2 separate regions of the Homo sapiens genome follow, and region 1 is linked to region 2. Evidence: promoter capture Hi-C in human tissues and cell types (Jung and others, 2019). All regions are on one chromosome and are shown on one strand. The core of a region is centred on a gene start or on the middle of the fragment in contact, and the rest is flanking DNA. Distances in the headings are between cores, read along the strand shown. Region 1 has its middle 9.2 kb from the start of SGPL1. Region 2 holds the start of EIF4EBP2 (eukaryotic translation initiation factor 4E binding protein 2).

The links. Contacts are between HindIII fragments. The study calls those that stand out against the background at their distance.
Region 1: a fragment that was not itself captured here is called in contact with the fragment with the promoter of EIF4EBP2 in region 2 in 1 of the 25 tissues and cell types used here (heart left ventricle).

Annotation. Positions count from the first base shown.
Region 1 is chr10:70,805,305-70,808,242 of GRCh38, forward strand. No RefSeq gene overlaps it. Among named protein-coding and RNA genes, the nearest start is that of SGPL1, 9.2 kb to the right of the region's middle. The HindIII fragment of the contact is 4,615 bases long and covers 1-2,938 here.
Region 2 is chr10:70,402,744-70,405,762 of GRCh38, forward strand. EIF4EBP2 (eukaryotic translation initiation factor 4E binding protein 2) reads left to right here and starts at 1,402. Exons shown (of 3, transcript NM_004096.5): 1 at 1,402-1,803. The coding sequence starts at 1,659. RefSeq lists silencers at 1,274-1,463, 1,494-1,703. The HindIII fragment of the contact is 23,735 bases long and covers 1-3,019 here.

The DNA of each region.
Region 1 (2,938 bases), core at 123-2,622, 400 kb after region 2:
GAAGACTCAGATTGTTAGAACAGACCAATTTATGCTTGTTGTCCCAGAAAACTTAATAATATGTCCTTAGTTTCAAAAGTATCCCAGATAGTCACTGTGAGTATAGTTGGGACATAAAGTCTGAGAGTGAGGTGGAAATGGGGGAGATGAAGGTGGAGAGAAGCAGCGGCTGATCGTAGAGGTCACTGTGGCCAAGTTCAAGAAAGGCATTCAGTTAACTGGGCTTCTTATGGTGTCTTTCCCTTCAAGGTTATCTTCTCCAGATATGATCTGATTCACAGATAGATCAATACAGCCACTGACAGATGATTATTGCTATGGGCTACCATTTACGGAGCGCTTACCAGGTAAGTGCTTTCCATGTAGGCTGGGGTGAGGCCCAGGTAACCTCTGCTGACTTAGTTATGCTTGTCCTTTAACTGATTCTCTGCCAGTAGGCCTTGGGTTTTGACTTGTTTTTACTGTTGTGAGGTCATGTCCTGAGACAACATTGGGCAAGTCCCAAAGGGCCTTCTGTTCCCAACTAGAAACTTTGTAAGCTTTCCCTGGAGGGGGACAGCTGAGGTCAGGAGATGGCTACTAGCTATAAACAGTTTGTTTTAAAGGACTTGTATGATGTCTGTATTGAAGGGATTCATATGAATATTCAAATGAAATGAGTTGAGTTTGTTCTAAGATGATGCAGTAGCTAGGAATGTTGAGTTAGATGTTTGGATGGGCAGCCAGGGCACATGGTTTAAACATTTGACGCACTTGAATTCAATGGATAGTGGATAGCAAGAGTGGGCATTTGAAATATGTCTGAGTGAGTGGTTTCCTCTGCAGCACCTCCTGCAACAGCTGTCCCTAAGTGGCAGGTGTGGGTTTATACCCTAAAACTGAATGTAGCAGTGCCCTCAAGCAGACCCACAAGGACTAGCTTGAGGCTGCTTTGTCTCCCAGAAAGACAGTTGGCAGCAGCTATTGGAGGGCTCTGCAGGCTTCCAAGTCCCCACCACTGCCCCAACACTTGGGTGGTCAGTGGGCACATGAGGCCACTGAGAATGGTCATGTCACCCTGCCCTTCCCATTCCTCCATTGCCAACCTACTGAGGTTTGGGGCTAGCGTGAGAATCTATTTGTGTTAGCTTGCTAATCAGGCTGTTGTAACAAAGTGCCACAAACTGGGTGGCTTGCACAACAGAAATGGATTGTCTCCCATTTCTGCAAGATAGAAGTCTGAGATCAAGGTGTTGGCAGGGCTGGTTCCTTCTGAGAGCTATGAGGAAAAACACGTTTCATGGCCCTCTCCTAGCTACTGGTGGTTTGTTGGCAACCTTTGATGGTCTTTGGCTTATAAAGTCATCACTCTGATTGCTACCTTCATTTTCACATGGTGCTCCCCCTCTATGCATGTCTGTCCAAATTGCCCCATTTTATAAGGACACCAGTCATATTAGGCTAGGGGTGCACCCTATTCCAGTAATACTTCATCTTAACTCATTACATCTGCCATGACCCTATTTTCCAGTAAGGCCATATTCACCACATGGATTGTTGGGGGACACAGTTCAACCCATAGCACTTAGGATAAATTGAAATAGCATCAGCATGAACACAATTACTCTACTGGTTACTTCTGCCAAACAACCTTCAAGTCAGAAAGAATCCTGTGGTTAAGGGAGAGGTACCGCAATCCAGCTGCAACAAGTTAAAGGTGTAGCCCACTAGCTATGGGTTAGTTTGCCCTGAGCTCTGAATGTGACTTCTTCCCTGGGAATCTTGGCTTGAGGGCACATGTGGGAGCCTGCTTGCCAGGCACAGGGTAGCCTGTGGCTTTGGGAGTCTTGTTTTAATCTGTTCTGTCACTTTCCAAAGGTCTGTCTTCTAAGCTTATGCCATTGTTGTACCCTAGAACCAACTATTTTCATTCTTTGCTGAGTACCTTTTCTGCCCATATGAATTCTCTCCTAGCCATTCTCCATACCACGCAGACGGATTGTTCTAAAACACAAATGTGATATTGTCAGTCCCTTGACTGAAAAGACCTCAACGGCTGTTGCTCTTTGGATGAAGATCAAAACACTGTTTCCTACAGGACTGGGAGGTCTCAGACAGGAGGATTGCCATCTGCATTTGCATTTATTTAAAAAACAATTGAACTGGTGACATTCTGTTTCTTGATCTGGGTGGTGCTGAACAATGGTGTTCACTATGTCAATATTCATCTAGCTCTACACTTTGATTTGTGGACTTGTCTGTACATACAATGTATCCCAATTTTAAAAAATCTTCAAAACAACTGAATGAGTTGCCCAAAGTTCTGGGAGTTCCTTGGTCGTATTACACTTTATGATCTTTTAGATCTCTTGACCAATACCATACAACTAGAGATTTTTTTCCCCCTTTCTATCTTGGGAGGAAAAAGATGGAATTAACAAACAGAGGTGATTCAGTGAGTTACATTGTGGTCACAAGATAAATTATGCACATTGCGACAAGAAAACCACATAGTCCTATAAAATTATGGGCTGTTTTTATCCAGAATTATGCTGGCTTTCTATTTCCTGTTGTTGATTAAGAATAAAGAGGGACCTGCCTGTTGCCCCTGCCTGCAGCGCCTAGAGGAGAGAGAGAAGTCATGATCAGCCTCATTTCTGCCCCAGGGACTGCATTATTCCCCTTTGAAGCAACAGTGCTTCCCCTAGAGCTTGGTCAAGGAGAGGGGCTGCAGGCAACCCCTGTGTCTGCCCCAAGAAAATGGGAGTTCTGAGCAACTTGGGTGTATGGAAAAAGGAAGCACTCTCCACAGATGGCTGAAAAGCATTGTTGGTAACATATGAAGCTTGAGTCTAGGGGTAAATGACAAGCCCTTTAAGTGGGCTCTGTTTCTTGGAGTGCTGAACTGTTCCCACTGTTTAACATAAAGAACCAAAGTAGCCCTTGCAAAGAGAGTGAG
Region 2 (3,019 bases), core at 152-2,651:
TTCTTTTGTCTATGTTCTTGCCAAGCACCTGTTTGACCCTCTGAGCAGTGAAGCAATAGCTGTTTTCCCCTCAACCTCTCTTACCCTTATTTCTCTCATTTGCAAAATGGGAATGATGGTAGCTATGTTGGCCTTACCCATGAGTGTCTTCCCAGTCCCACCTTGGGCATGTTGTGGGCAGAAGTAGTGCTGCCCTAGTGCAGCGGTTCTCAAAGTGTGATCTGGAGAGCCCCTCGGGGATCTGAGACAACCTTCTTTTCTAACTACATACCTGTGTGAGGCTGGGTTTTCTTCATATAGTTGAATCAACACATTACAACAGCTTGAACACAGAAACAGATATGAGAATACAGCTGTTTTCTATTAAGCCAGATATTAAAGCGTTTGCAAAAATATAAAATAATGCCACTGTTCTCACTATTTGTTTTAGATAATTAAAAAATATAATGTCAACATGTAATAGGTTATTATTTTATGAATTAATAAACATTTAAAACATTCTCAGTTTTAATTTGTTTTTTGTTGTTGTTGTTGTTGTTGTTTTTTAGAGACAGGGCCTCACTCTGTTGCCCAGGCCGGAATGCAGTGGCTATTCACAGGTACAATCCCACTAGTGATCAGCAGCGGCTCAGTTTTAATTTCTAATACAATAATTATCAATACATATAATCCACACAAACAAAAGCTCTTGGAAATCCTCAATAATTTTCAAGAATGTAGAGGTACTGAGACCCAAAGTTTGAGAACCCCTCGAGGAAAGAATAGAGTTCCAGATCTAGATTTTTCAGGTACCTCATGGTCTAAGCCCTCTCCTGTGCCTCATTTTAACTCTAATACAATAATACTCATTCTTGTTGCCATGAGTGGCTCTTGGTTTCTTCCTTTTCCTAATGTTTAGATCTTGCTTTATGTGTGTATATAGTGATGGTCTTTGGAAGGATACACAATTAACTGGTACAGCGGTTGAGGGGAGTTCGGAAACTGGGAGAAAGTGGCACCATAAACCTTTCTGCTCTGTTTGATTTTTAAAATACAGTACATCGTGCATGTAGTGCCTGAATTAATAATGAACAATTAAAAGTAAAATTACATTTTTAATGCATAGGAATGCATGAGAAACTCAAGTCTGCTCAAGTAAAGTGGTGTTAACCGACAATGACAAACAATAAGAAGAAAGTTTTCCTTGTCCGCCTTCACCAGGCTCACAAACACTTAGCTCGCGCTCCCTCTGGCTCTTCTCCCGCTCGCTGGGGTTAAGCCACTCTCTTCCTCAGCCCTGCCCCTCGTCCCCGCCCCCTTCAACAACTTCAGCCACGCCCCTCACTGCCTCGCCCCGCCCCGCGGCGACGTCACCTCCGGCCGACCAGCTTCCCCAACTCCCTCTGGCTCCCGCCTTCGCCCGCTTCCGGTCGTCGTCGTCGCCGCTGCTGCCGCTGCTGTTGCTCCTGAGGCTGCTGGCTGAGGCCGGAGGATCGAGCGGCGGCGGCGGCGGCGGCTGAGAGGGCGGCGGCGGGAGCGGAGCGGGACGAGGGAACGGGAGGAAGCGAGCGAGGAGCGCGCAGAGCGCGCTTTTCCGTCCGCCTGAGGAGCCGAAGCAGCCCCGGCCCCGCCGCCGCCGCCTGCCCGCCGGACAAAGCCGAGAGCCCGCGCCCACAGCCATGTCCTCGTCAGCCGGCAGCGGCCACCAGCCCAGCCAGAGCCGCGCCATCCCCACCCGCACCGTGGCCATCAGCGACGCCGCGCAGCTACCTCATGACTATTGCACCACGCCCGGGGGGACGCTCTTCTCCACCACACCGGGAGGTGAGCGCCGGCCAGCCGTCCGCCGCGCCCGGTGTCCCGCCGCGGTCCTCTAACTCCTCGGCGCCTCGGTGCCCGGCCGCTTCGCCCCCGCCCCCAGCTCCACCGAAGCCCCGGGGACGCTGCCCTTGGGCCCGCCCGAGCGTTCGGGACCCTTTACTTCGTGTTCGCTCTTGCCCGCAGCTCGAGTCGGCGCGCGCCCCACTCGGGAATGTGGCTGTCCTGTCGCGAAAAAGAGCTCTTGTTTCCGCTTCGTGGCAGGCTTACGCATTCGACCCAGTTCTCTCTCTCCTCTCTGCCTCCTTCCCGGGCGGATTTGGCTCCACTTGGCCTTGCATTACAGTCTGCATTGCCTGTCGTAGATTGTGCAAATTAATGCTTGATTTTGGAGCTGGCTCCGGGGCTTTTTAAAAAAGAACTTTGGGAGAGGAATTCGGCCCTGGCATCCTGCGATGGCTTGTTTTTGCTGCTTTTAGAACACCGGGAGGAGGCTGGAATGCGGAGTCTGGAAGCCTCGCCCAGCGTTATCCCGCTTTGACAGCATTGTTTACTTTGCTGGACGAGGCCCCACGGGTGAGGGGAGTCCCCAGGCCGGGAGGAGAGCGTGATAAAATAAAGCTCAAGTAATAGCCAAGGGAAAGTAGGTGGGGGTGGTAGGGTGCTGACAGCCTTAAGGTAGGGTGTCTTTCGGCAGCGACGCCTTTGGAAATGGATTGAAGGACCTTTGTCAAGGACACCCCAGTTGGGTGGGGTGGTTGCTTGATCCTGTGGAAGGGGCTAGAGAGAGGCAATCCAGAGAGAGGGTGGTTCCCTGGCATTGCTTTTCAAAGCATGACCAGGAACTGTTTACAAATAAGTAATACTGGGGTAGAGGTGAAGCTTGGTCACGGGAAGAGAGCTCAAAGGTTGTCTGTGCCCTAACTGGGCTGTCCTCCAGAGGGAGGAGCCTGGAAAGCGATTTTGAGGAGCCTTATTGAAGGGAACGGGGCCTCCTTTTTAACTTCAGAACTTTGTCTTCTTTTGGTGCTGGGGTGGCCTCTTGCTAGAGGGTGGGGACTTCGCAGCTCCTGCGGTCTAGAGGATTGCTAGCCTTGTTCCTGTGGGCAGGGCTCAGGAGCTGTACTACAACCAATCCGATGCAGTTAGGCCTGGACCATCCTTAAATCAGTTGCACAATAGCAAGGCCTGTGGAGTAAGGAGACCTTCTTGCCAACACCAA